Linked DNA regions of Homo sapiens: all the other regions are linked to region 2. The links are contacts of gene promoters, found by promoter capture Hi-C in human tissues and cell types (Jung and others, 2019). All regions are on one chromosome and are shown on one strand. Each heading gives the region's core, a stretch centred on a gene start or on the middle of the fragment in contact. The rest is flanking DNA. Distances are from core to core; before and after follow the strand shown. Region 1 overlaps NPAS1 (neuronal PAS domain protein 1). Region 2 holds the start of DMWD (DM1 locus, WD repeat containing). Region 3 overlaps ARHGAP35 (Rho GTPase activating protein 35).

Region 1 (4,358 bases), core at 1,859-4,358, 1.2 Mb before region 2:
AGAGACGGGCCAAGATCTGCAGCCCCAGAAGGAGGGCCCGGACCCAAGACACAGCCCCTCTTCCATCCCCGAAGGCACCCCTGGGCTAGGCCTCCGCCCTGGTCCCCTGCCTTCCCTCCCTTCTCCCCATCACCCTGTCCCATCCATTGCTGTTCCGCCTCCCATGGCTCCCCAGTGCCCTATCCTGCAGACCCAGCACTCCCTCTGACTCCCCATGTACCCCCAGATCTCCATTGTGCCCCCAATCCACCCGCCACAGCCCCCAACCCCGGTACCTGCTCTCACAAGCAAGGATGGTGAGACCCAGGCTGAGACGGAAGACGATCATGTGTCCATGGAGTGGCAGCTCAGCCAGGGGGGCCGGGGGCAACGTGTGCCCGAGGGCCACAAGGCCCAGGGCGTGGGCCCGAAGGCGCCCAGTCACGTGGATGACCTGCTGGTGGTGGGCATGGTTGGAGGAGGGACAAGGCGGGCCAGTGGGGGCAAGAGGACCATCACTGGGCTGGGTTCCCTCTGTCCCCCACAGGTGCTGGAGGACTGGACACTGTGTGACCCCCCCAGTCCCATTCCCAGACCCAGTTCCCTAAGCCACCTGCAGCCAGTGAAGCCACCAGCCTGGTTCCCTCGGTCACCCTCAATCTGGGGACATGGCTGCCTGGAATACAGGAGCCTGACTGCTCACACCCACCTTGTACCCTGAGGCCTTGACGTGCAGCCCCCTCTTGGTGAGCGTGGATTTCATGCGGACAAAGAAGGAGCGCTCCTGGACCAGGGAGGAGGGGGGCACCTTGGTGAGGCTGGCCTCTGGGACAGAGAGTGAAGGAAGGTTATGGGGTCCTGAAGAGGAAACACACAGGCCACCCTGACCCTTGCAGAGCCAGCCGGACATAGACACAAGATGTCCGCTGGGCCACGGCCGCACTCAGAGGCATGCCTGATGATTTTGAAAGCTCATGGGGACAGTATGTGGGCTCCCCTATGTGGCAGCCATCCGCATCCTTTCTTTTTTTTTTTGAGACTGAATATCACTCTGTTGTCCAGGCTGGAGTGAATGGCGCAATCTTGGCTCACTGCAACCTCCGCCTCCTGGGTTCAAGTGATTCTTCTGCCTCAGCCTCCCAAGTAGCTGGGATTACAGGCACATGCTACCATGCCCGACTAATTTTTGTATTTTTAGTAGAGACGGGGTTTTGCCATGTTGGCCAGGCTGGTTTTGAACTCCTGACTTCAAGGGATCTGCCCTCCTTGGCCTCCCAAGGTGCTACGATTACATGTGTGAGCCACCATGTCTGGTCCCATCCATGTCTTTTTTTTTTTTTTTTTTGAGCTGGAGTCTCGCTCTGTCACCAGGCTAGAGTGCAGTGGCACGATCTCGGCCTACTGCGACCTCCGTCTCCCCAGTTCAAGTGATTCTCCTGCCTCAGCTTCCTGAGTAGCTGGAATTACAGGCACGCGCCATCATGCCCAGCTAGTTTTTGTATTTTTAGTAGAGACGGGGTATCGCCATGTTGGCCAGGATGGTCTCAATCTCTTGACCTCGTGATCTGGCCGCCTCGGCCTCCCAAAGTGCTGGGATTACAGGCGTGAGCCACTGCGCCTGGCCCCATCTACGTCTTTCTAATGCTCAAACGTGCCTCCACCCTCCCCTGCTCTGAACCTGCCATAGCTTCCTGAGGCCTTGAGAGGAAAGCCCACCTCTCAGGACCCATCCTCCAGGTCTCAGCACAGACTTCTCCTCCTCCAAGAAGCCCTCCCTGACCCTCAGGCTGGGTCAGCCATCCCCTCTGGGTTCCCCTATCCCAGCCCTGCCCCATCTGGGTTGCCACTGTCTGAGGACAGGTTGGTCTCCCCTCACTGGACTGGGAGCCCCAGGTGGGTGGGGCTGGAGCTGTCATGGTCACTCCTATGTCACCAGGACAGGGGCTGGCCCAGAACAGGGGATTGGGGAATAGCAATAAATAAGACTCACAAATCCAGATCCTTCTGTAACCCCTACAAAACGGTCTTAAAAATATGCTCACACACAGATGACCCTGTGCCTAAAACTCAGGTACAAACACAGTCCCACTCCCCAACAGCCTGCACGTGTTGCAGACTTCGCCCCACGCTTGCAAGCACAGCTGATGTCTCAGATGTTTTTGGTGTTAAGCAAACCCAAGATTGGAAAATCCTATTTACAGGATAGTTAGCCTCATAGGCCCCCAACATCTCAGAGCTAAAAAGAGCCGGCAGGGTAATCTGCAGCACCCTCCCTCCCATACACAGTGGGAGTGGAAATTTCCACTGGAGAGAAGGGTTAGGCGTGCTGACCCCGGAACAGACAGACCTGGGCTAGAATCCAACTCAATCACTTATAGCTGTGTGACCTGGGGGCAATTAACTTAACCTCTCCGCGCCGTGCCTCAGTTTTCTGATGTAAAATGGAGATAACACTTCTTGCATTGTGGGCCTGCGCTTAGGATCTAATGCAATTTTTTTTTTTTTTTTTTTTTTTTTTTTTTGGAGACGGAGTCTCACTCAGAGTGCAATGGCCTGATCTCGGCTCAGTGCAACCTCCACCTCCCAGGTTCAAGCGATTCTCCTGCCTCAGCATCCTGAGTATCTGGGATCACAGGCACCTGCACCACGCCCGGCTAATTTTTGTATTTTTAGTAGAGATGGGGTTTCACCATGCTGGCCAGGCTGGTCTCGAACTCCCGACCTCAGGTGATCCGCCCACTTCGGCCTCCCAAAGTGCTGGGATTACAGGCGTGAGCCACCGCACCCAGCCTTTTTTTTTTTTTTTTTCCAGACACTGGCTCTGTCACCCGGGCTGGAGTGCAGCAACGTGATCTCCTCACTGCAACCTCTGTCCCCAAGGCTCAAGCCATCCTCCCACCTCCCAAGTAGCTGGGACCACTGGCATGTGTCATCATGCCCAGCTAATGTTTTTTTCTTTCTTTTGTTGTTGTTGTTTTTTTTGGAGACAGTCTTGGACTCGCCCAGGCTGGAGTGCAGTGGCACAATCTCTGCTCACTGCAACATCCATCTCCTGGGTTCAAGTGATCCTTCTGCCTCAGCCTCCCGAGTAGCTGGGACTCAGGCACCCCCCACCATACCCAGCTAATTTTTTTTTTTTTTTTGTATTTTTAGTAGAGATGGGGTTTCACTATGCAAGCCAGGCTGGTCTCAAACTCCTGACTTTAGGTGACCCACCCGCCTCGGCCTCCCAAAGTGCTGGGGCTACAGCTTTGTGCCACCACTCCTGGCCTTTTTTGTAATTTTTGTAGAGATGAGGTTTCACTATGTTGCCCAGGCTGGTCTCCAACCGAGCTCAAGTGATCCGCCCCCCTGGGCCTCCCGAAGTGCCGGGGTTACAGGCGCGAGCCGCCGCGCCCGGCCCTAACGTAATTATGTAATGTGATTGTGCACTTACAGACACAGCCGGTGTATATTCCCAATAAGCCTGCCTTGTTATTTACCTAAGCCTCTCCCAACTCCTTTCAGCAGCCAGGGGGGTCTTTCTGTAGCTCGAATCTTTGGGAGTTTGGCAAGCTTAAGGAACCAAGTCTCACCGCCTCAATTTATACTCCGATTCCTTTTGCAAAGATTCGTTCTACACAGTTCTAACTTCACTGCTATTTGTATAAACGCGGCATGGCTGGATACAGTACAGCGGGCGTCCCCCGATCTACCCTCAGACTTCATTCTTTAGGAGCCCTTAGAATTACCGATCTCGGGGGTATCTGCAAGCGAAGAGGAAGAGGAGGAGGAAGAGGAGACGGAGGGCGGGGTTGGGGGGCCGGGCGTCGGCGTCCGCAGCCCCAGTTGCTCCAGCACCTCTGAGTGGTCCCCAGGGTGAATGTAGTCGAAGACGCTGCTGCCCGTCATCTCCACCTGCCGGCGAAGGAGGGGAATGCAGGGGGCGGGTGAGGTGCGCGCGCAGTAACTCGCTCGCCCTCTGGGCTCAGCCTTGCCTCATTTGCCTGCACGCAGGTGCGCTTCATGCCAGTGTGTTTTTTTAAGAAAAGAAAAAAACAAAAAACAATTACCTTTCAAACGGAAGATACAAACTTAGACTCTTCTCGCTTCATACCCAGTGATTAGTAAGGATTTTTCCCCGCCCACTCTATTAAGGGGCTGTGTGTGGGAGTGGGGCGTGGGTGGGAGGTGTCAGAACCTCCGTTTACCCAACTCCTGCTTACTCACTACCACCCCCATACAGCAAACAACTGTGCCCTGGCATGAATCACTGGGTGTCCCAGCAGGAATGAGATTCAAGATACAAACAGGGGAGTGGTTTTTAAGCTCTTAAAGAGTTAGAGCTTTTCAATCAGACACTTTTACATTCAATTCTACCCGTAAATCTCTCTCCTAGC
Region 2 (4,250 bases), core at 279-2,778:
GAGGCCGAGGTGGGTGGATCACCTGAGGTCAGGAGTTCGAGACCAGACTGGCCAACATGGTGAAACCCCGTCTCTGAGCCGAGATGGAGCCATTGCACTCCAGCCTGGGTGACAGGGTGAGACTGTCTCAAAAAAAACAAAAACAAAAACAAAATAAAACCTCTCTACATGCCAAGTGAAAGGTGGAAGTGGGGGTGAGACAGAAATCTGGGAGACCAAGAGACACGGTTGATGTGGGGGTGGGGGAAGGGCTTGGGTAGAGGAGAAGCTTGGATCAGGGAGAACAAGGAACTGAGAAAGAGGAATTCCACGTGGTCGAATGCAAAAGACTTGGAGGCTGTAAGCGGGGGCAGAGTGAAGATAAATGGTACACATCTAGGAAGACACCCAGGTCTGTGGCCTGGTTGACTGAGTGGACGGCAGAGCTAGCCCTAAGGTGGGGATGCAAGAGAGGTGGAGGATTTGGTGTAAGACGTCAATTTCATTGTAGGATTCTTTTTTCTTTCTTTTTTTTTTTTTTTTAGAGAGACTGAGTCTGACTCTGTCCCCCAGGCTTTAGTGCAGTGATGTGAATTCATAGCAGTCTTGATCTCCTGGGCTCAAACGATCCTCCCACCTCAGCCTCCCAAAGTGCTGGGATTCTCGGATTCCAGGCATGAGCCACCATGCCCGAACCATTGTAGGATTTTTTTTTTTAAGTGTGAGATGCCCTTGGGACACTCTAGGGAGAAATCGTAGAGGCCATTGACTACATGAGACTAGAAAGATCTATGATGGGGCTGGGTGGCTTCAGCAGACATGGGGAGCACTGGCTATGAGTAGGAGCTGTTGGGATCAGGGGGAGACTTTGGGTTACGAGTGGATCACTGGGACACTGGGGCACCGTGGGGATCAATACAATTTGGGAATCAGAGGTAGGTTTTGGAGGACAAGTGAGGTTGTTGAAAATAAGAAAATCATGGAAATATACATTGGAGGTTGGTGGAAAATATGAAGGATGTTTGGAGTTAGCATTAATCAATAGTGGGTCAGAGGAAGTCCTCTGAGTTGTGTGGGGACACAGGGATTTGGTGGGTCACCAAGGGTGGGGAAGAATGGTAGCAGATGCTGTGGTCATTCAGGGATTTGAATATGTCAGTGGGAAACACTGGAGGTCAGGGGAGTGTATATTGGGCGTCTAAGGAGAGACCAGGGTCACTTGGGGTTGGCTGTGACTTCATGGGAAGGCTGGACTATGGATGAGGGCTTCTTTGTCGTGGGGGAAAAAAAAAAAAAAATCCCTCCGTTGCTAGGCAAACGTTCCCAGGGCGCGGTTGCTAAGGACTTGAGCTTTCTAACTGGCCACGCCTCTTTCCATTGCGGGCTCCGCCCCCGCAGCCAACCACAAGTCGGTCACAGGCTCAAAGGCCGCGCCCACCTTCTCGCCCCGCCCACAGTCCCAGCACCGTTACCCGAGCGACCGCGGGGATTCGTCCCGCCTCCGGATCTGGGTGCCAATCGAAGAGGCGTTGCCCGGGCGACGACCCCACCTTTTCCGGCGCGGGCCAGCGGCTTCCGGGAGGGGGCCCGGCTGCGGGCGGCAGTCCGGCAGTGGCGGGGCCCGGGGGGCGCCCAAGATGGCGGCGGGCGGCGCGGAGGGCGGCTCGGGCCCCGGCGCCGCCATGGGGGACTGCGCGGAGATTAAGTCGCAATTCCGCACGCGCGAGGGTTTCTACAAGCTACTCCCGGGCGACGGCGCCGCTCGCAGGTCGGGTCCGGCTTCCGCCCAGACTCCGGTGCCGCCTCAGCCACCGCAGCCCCCGCCCGGCCCTGCCTCCGCCTCCGGTCCCGGCGCTGCAGGCCCCGCGTCGTCCCCGCCGCCCGCAGGCCCCGGACCCGGGCCCGCCCTGCCCGCCGTGCGCCTCAGCCTCGTGCGCCTCGGGGAGCCGGACAGCGCCGGGGCCGGGGAGCCGCCCGCCACGCCCGCGGGGCTGGGCTCGGGGGGAGACCGCGTCTGCTTCAACTTGGGCCGTGAGCTCTATTTCTACCCAGGCTGCTGTCGTCGTGGGAGCCAACGGGTGAGCGGCCTGCATCGTGGGGCCCTGGGTGCTGAAAGGATGGAGGTTCCAGAGAACTGATAGGAGGGTCCCCGAATTGATATGGGGCCCTGAGATAGGCATTCTAAATGTGATGGACGTTGTAGGGCGACAGCATTGGAGGGAGTACAGGATTCTGAAATGTGATGAGAGGCCCGCGGGGTGCTGGGCAGGCATCTTGGAGGTGATGGGGGAAATCCCCTTTACCCCCGTTATGCGTAGGAGTTCTGGGATGGTGACTATTGGACATGATGGGGTATCTGAGATGAGGTGGGATCCCCCGGGTTCTGGGGTGGCAGGCATTCTGCAGGTAATGGGGAATCATGAGGTGATGCAAGCCCAGAGGTGATGGAGAACCCAGTATTGCAGCCTGGAGGTGTGGGAGAGGGGTCTTGAGATTGAGCCCAGGAATGAGGAGAAGTCTAGAAGTGATGGGGGCCTTGAAGGTGATAGGGGATCCAGAAGCTGAATGGGATTCTAGAGAAAATTGGGGTCTGGAAGTCATGAGGGTCCTGGAGGAGATGAGCGTCCGGAAGCTGATGGGAGCTCTCAAGGGAATGAGAGGCCCTGGCAGGGGAATCTGCAGGTGTGATTCAGGACATCTCTAAAGCGATGTGGTGAGAACCCTGGCCGTTTATGGTGATCCCAGAAATGATGGGGATCCTTCGGAGCCCCTAGGTAATAAATGGGCCTAAAATGTGGGAGACCGTGAGGTTTGACGGGTCCCAGAACTGTGGCGGTTTAGGGACTACAAAGTGAAGAGAATGCTAGGATGTTAGGCTTTAGAGTCCTGGAAATTTGGGTGACCTCAAGGTTTGGGGGTCTTGGAATAGTGTGGTACTAGGTCCCAAGGGAGTTGCTGAGGTTATAGGATGGAGTGGTGAGGCTAAAAGGAATCGGAGCTTAGGAACTGTGTGGACCCAGAACCCTGATTATGTGGACAAGGGTGTCTCTGAATTAGAGGTGACCCAACTTTGGGGAGGCACTGTGGTCAAGGGGGATCCTTACCATCTTTTTTGCTACTCTTGTCTGTGATTTGGGTCCCCTTCCCGTCTGTGGTTGCCCCGTCCTTCGCAATCCACCTACTCACCTCCCCACTTCCCTCTGGGTTCTAACCCTGCTTCCTCTTAGTGGTTTCCCCCAACCTCAACATCCTCTTCCTTCTCCTCAGTGGCATACACCATTAACTCCTTTTCTCCCACCCCTCAAGTCCATTGACCTCAACAAGCCAATTGACAAGCGGATCTACAAGGGCACCCAGCCCACCTGCCACGATTTCAACCAGTTCACTGCTGCCACCGAGACCATCTCGCTGCTGGTGGGCTTCTCAGCGGGTCAAGTGCAGTACCTGGATCTCATCAAAAAGGACACCAGCAAGCTGTTCAATGAGGAGGTGATTGCAGCCCCCAGAGCCCCCAACTTCTCTGCCTTCTCACCTACCCACTATATGCCATTAGGATGCAGCTGCCTGCGGAACAGTGTAGGCCTGAGAGGGGCAGGACCAGGGAGAGATGGAGAATGGGGTGACAGCAGCTAATGACAGCTGCCTTTACTGTACCCAGGCCCTGTGCTGTGTTACCCTTGTGCTGAATACTTTACTCCTTGGGTTTTCTTTCTTTCTTTCTTTCTTTTATTTATTTATTTTGAGATGGAGTCTCACCCTGTCACCCAGGCTGGAGTGCAGTGGCGCGATCTCTGCTCACTGCAAGATCCACCTCCCGGGTTCATGCCATTCTCCTGCCTCAGCCTCCTGAGTAGCTGGGACTTCAGGCACCTGCTGCCACGCCCGCCTAATTTATTGTAGTTTTAGTGGAGATGGGGTTTCACCGTGTTAGTCAGGATGGTCTCGATCTCCTGACCTCGTGATCTGCCCACCTCGGCCTCCCAAAGTGGTGGGATTACAGGTGTGAGCCACCATGCCCGGTTCTTTTTTTTTTTTTTAATTGTAATTGTAATTTTTATTGTTTTTAATTTTTTTTTTCTTTTTAAGGCGGAGTCTCACTCTGTCGCCCAGGCTGGAGTGCAGTGGTACAATCTCGGGTCACTGCAACCTCCGCCTCCCAGGTTCAAGCAATTCTCCTGCCTCAGCCTCCTGAGTAGCTGGGACTACAGGTGCGCACTATCATACCTGGCTAATTTTTTTTTTTGAGATGGAGTCTCGCTCTGTCGCCCAGG
Region 3 (4,148 bases), core at 712-3,211, 1.1 Mb before region 2:
ACAGTAACCCAACAGAGCAGCTACTATTATAATCCCCATTTTACAGATGAGAAAACAGGCTTGCAGAGGTCAAGAGACTCGTTCAAGATCACCCGGCTTAGTATGGCCCCAGCTGCCTGCCTCTGAGGCCCACACACGTGGCTTAACCCCAATACTGCACTGCTGCAAAGCCAGAATGGACAAAAACAGCTGCTGCACAGCGTGAGCTTTCTGGAGAAAACAGAAGCTACAACTGCTCTAATCCACTTGCTCTTTTACCAAAGCTCTCCACTGTGAGGGAAACAGTCTCTTATGTACCTAGATGCAAAACTTCATAATATATTTCCCACAATATTTTGTATATGTACCTTATGCTGCTCAAAGTACTATTACAAAACTTGCCTTCTTAGCTTTTATTTGAGACAGGGACTTGCTGTTGCCCAGGTTGGAGTGCAGGTGCAGTGGCGCAATAACCACTCACTGCAGCCTTGACCTCCCGGGCTCCGGTGATACACCTCAGCTGGGACTACAGGTGCACACCATCACGCCTGGCTAATTTTTTGTAGAAACAGGGTTTCACCATGTTGCCTAGGCTGGTCTGAACTCCTGAGTTCAAGTGATCCTCCCACCTAGGCCTCCCAAAGTGCTTGGGATTACAGGTGTGAGCCACTGTGCTGGGCTTCCTTATAGCTTTTTTTTTGAGACGGGGTTTCATTCTTGTCACCGAGGATGGAGTGCAGTGGCGCGATCTTGGCTCACTGAAACCTCTGCTTCCTGGGTTTAAGCGATTCTCCTGCCTCAGCCTCCCGAGTAGCTGGGACTACAGGCATGTGCCACTAAGCCCAGCCAATTACGTATTTTTAGTAGAGATGGGGTTTCACCATGTTGGCCAGGCTGGTCTCAAACTCTTGACCTCAGGAGATCCGCCTGCCTCAGCCTCCCAAAGTGCTGGGATTACAGGCATGAGCCACCGCACCTGGCCTTCCTCACAGATTTTTAAATCCACCCGGGAAGGGTAAGTATTCTCTTCATTTCACAGACAAGGGCATTGGGACCTGGAGACTAAATTATTTGCCCAAAGTCAGAGGATTCAATATGCTCTCTCCTCAATAGGATTACTGATATCACCCAAGCCTCACAGAAGAACAGAATTTCTGCCAGAGTTAACCATAAAGACCATTTCTAATTGATGGGAAATGGTCGCCTTTCAACTTCAGTAACTTGCAATTAAGGATATCATTTTACTTGCCTGAGCATTAAATTGTGAGAAAACACCAACGTGCACTTTTCTTAATTTCCCAAACCATAGAAGGGATAAGATGCTATAAGATTTTGCCCGGCTGGGCGCGGTGGCTCACGCCTGTAATCCCAGCACTTTGGGAGGCCGAGGCGGGTGGATCACGAGGTCAGGAGATCGAAGACTATCCTGGCTAACACGGTGAAACCCCGCCTCTACTAACAATACAAAAAAATTAGCCGGGCGTGGTGGTGAGCGCCTGTAGTCCCAGCTACTCGGGAGGCTGAAGCAGGAGAATGGCGTGAACCCGGGAGGTGGAGCTTGCAGTGAGCCGAGATCGCGCCACTGGACTCCAGCCTGGGTGACAGAGCGAGACTCCGTCTCAAAAAAAAAAAAAAAAGATTTTGCCCTTAAATTTCAGCTTTTTTCCCCCTCATCCAATTGCAAAAATTCATTTCTATTTACACAGAAAGTATACCTTTAAAAAAAAGTTACCAAAAAAATATGAAGCTCACTATTCTGGAAATACTCTTTCAAGGCTTCAGGAAAAGTACCTTTCCTACCAACTAGCAGTATTCACATAAATCCTAAGGGTCTGGCCCTCCTATAAGGATGATGATAAGTTAAATACTATGGGAAGAAAATCAGTCTCAAATTTAAAGGAATTAAAATGCCTGTAGTAAAAATCAGTGAGTAGGTGAAAATCTAGAAAATCTCTCTCTATTATCTCAATCTCAAGGACCATTACAAAACGGCAGAGTAAGACATGACATAGGAGACAGCAGAAAAAGATACATGGCTTTCCTTTCACTAAAAGTATGGCCGGGCGTGGTGGCTTGCACCTGTAATCCCAGCATTTTGGGAGGCTGAGGCGGGCAGATCACCTGAGGTCAGGAGTTCTAGACCAGCCTGGTCAACATGGTGAAATCCCATCTCCAATAAAAATACAAAAATTAGCTGGGTGTGGTGGCACATACCTGTAGTCCCAGCTACTCGAGAGGCTGAGGCAGGAGAATCGCTTGAACCCAGGAGGCAGAGGTTACAGTGAGCAGAGATCGTGCCACTGCACTCCAGCCTGGGCAACAGAGCGACTCCGTCTCCAAAAAAAAAAAAAAAAAAACCAAAAAACAGGATAGAGTGTAAACCAAAGTCAATTACATCTAAAGTTTTTCAAAGGAAAAAATAAAAACTGCTCCAAGGAATGAGTCATAAAGTGATATTTATAAATCAAGAATATCTTAGAAATTTCACATCATTGATCCACTCTCAAAAACTAACCTCAAGGTAAGAATCTCACTTCATCAAGTTATTTTTTCTAAGTTCACCAGATCTAAAGAAAGCTTGACTTTGTCCATGAGCTTCCAAGTAGTGTGGAAAATAATTTTCCTTGAAATCCACAGGCAAGGGATTGCATCCTAATTGCATCATTTGCTCTTTGTTTTGAGGATACTGGAGATAATTCTAAGGACAAGGGAGAGAGTTGTGCTTAAAAATACTCAGCCTAATCACAAAATGGAACCACTTCAAGAACAACTGCACCCTGAATTTATGGTAAAAAAAAATCCCAAATCAGTAGAGAAGTTTGGTTTTTCCCTGACAAGCAGCCTTCACCAATATAAAGTTGTATTTAAGAATAATGGCAGAGACAGTTTGAAATCTTAAAAAAAAAAAAAAAAAAAGAGAAAGAACGAACGAACGAACTTATGTTAAGGCAGAAACAAAATATCCAAAATATCCATAAATAAATGGACTTCCCCCCCAATACATTTTTCACTGGTGAAGATGATATTACAAACCTACATCCCAATCTAGCTAAAGGATCACTTATTGAAAGATTTAAGTCCCCAAATCTACCTAAACCCTGGGATCATTAGTTCATACTCCTATTGGTACAATTCAATTTTAAACTTTTAAAAAACCTAAGTCAAAACCAAGGGGGGCAAAACCAAGGGGGGAGAGAAGTATTCATAATAAACAAGGTAAGTGTGTTTTATAATCTTTAAAGTGCTTTCTCATTTGATCCTCAAAACAATCCCAAGCAGAAGTTGGTGCCCATTCTTCAGATGACAGAATCACAGCATTTTAAGGCTAGAAAGGACTAACTTCCCACCCAATGCTTCCCACTAGAAAAGAAGGGGTCTTGTCTGGTGGCAACCTACTATATTCCCAGGACCTAGAGTAGTACCTGGTATACGGTAGATGCTCATCAACATCACCTCTATTATATGTTCAAAAAGTCCAACCCGAACAGTTTTTGAAGGTGTTAACTCCAGTCCAGAAGTGATATGACCTGGCCAAGACCTTATGGCTGGCTACCTGTTCCCCACACTCCTGCTTCCTAACTCAGGGCAGGCTCCTCCCCCTATTCAGGTTGTCAGTGAAACTCTAAGGGTTTCCCAAGCTCCCCCGCAGAATTCACTGGTATCTGAAAATTTTAATTTATAGCCTTCTCCCTTACACAGGTGTTTGTTTCCTTCATATGTATCACTCTTCACTTAGTTCCACAACCCTTTATTTAGCACCTACCATGTGCAAAGGACCATGACGGTGAAGGATCCGAAGATGAGAGTCAGTGCTCTCCAGGGAGTTATAAGCTGATGAGAACTCTAAAAGGCAACACCAGGAAGCTCTGATGCATGGAGAACTGGACTTACAAATGTTGGGAGAAGAGATACTCTAGGCAGAGGGACCTCATGAACATACAAAGCCTGAACACAGTGTTCAGGAAAAAGCAAGTGGTCCGGCCTGATTGCAAGGTACAGTGCAGAGACGCCCCAACTCAGAATCAACCTATGGAAAGAACTATGAGGACAAGCAGCTAACAATTATTTAGGTGGTTTCTTACTTCTTACTTCCTCCTGATACCACTTTCCTTTATACTTGTCCCACCTACTCCTGGCAGAAAAAAAAAAAAAAAAAGCAGCCAACAAAA

What was found. The method cuts DNA at HindIII sites, captures the fragments that hold promoters and counts their contacts. A contact is called where the count stands out against the background at its distance.
Region 1: a contact is called between a fragment that was not itself captured here and the fragment with the promoter of DMWD in region 2, in 1 of the 25 tissues and cell types used here (adrenal gland).
Region 3: a fragment that was not itself captured here is called in contact with the fragment with the promoter of DMWD in region 2 in 1 of the 25 tissues and cell types used here (hippocampus).

What each region holds. Positions count from the first base shown.
Region 1 is chr19:47,035,482-47,039,839 of GRCh38, reverse strand. NPAS1 (neuronal PAS domain protein 1) reads right to left here. Exons shown (of 12, transcript NM_002517.4): 6 at 3,711-3,876; 7 at 689-804; 8 at 276-433. Among named protein-coding and RNA genes, the nearest start is that of TMEM160, 11 kb to the left of the region's middle. The HindIII fragment of the contact is 4,479 bases long and covers 869-4,358 here.
Region 2 is chr19:45,790,123-45,794,372 of GRCh38, reverse strand. DMWD (DM1 locus, WD repeat containing) reads left to right here and starts at 1,528. Exons shown (of 5, transcript NM_004943.2): 1 at 1,528-2,057; 2 at 3,286-3,468. The coding sequence starts at 1,617. RefSeq lists a silencer at 1,400-1,879 and enhancers at 3,028-3,077, 3,098-3,157. The HindIII fragment of the contact is 5,315 bases long and covers 1-2,795 here.
Region 3 is chr19:46,892,634-46,896,781 of GRCh38, reverse strand. The region is part of intron 1 of ARHGAP35 (Rho GTPase activating protein 35); the gene reads right to left. Among named protein-coding and RNA genes, the nearest start is that of ARHGAP35, 34 kb to the right of the region's middle. RefSeq lists a silencer at 3,708-3,787. The HindIII fragment of the contact is 4,402 bases long and covers 1-4,148 here.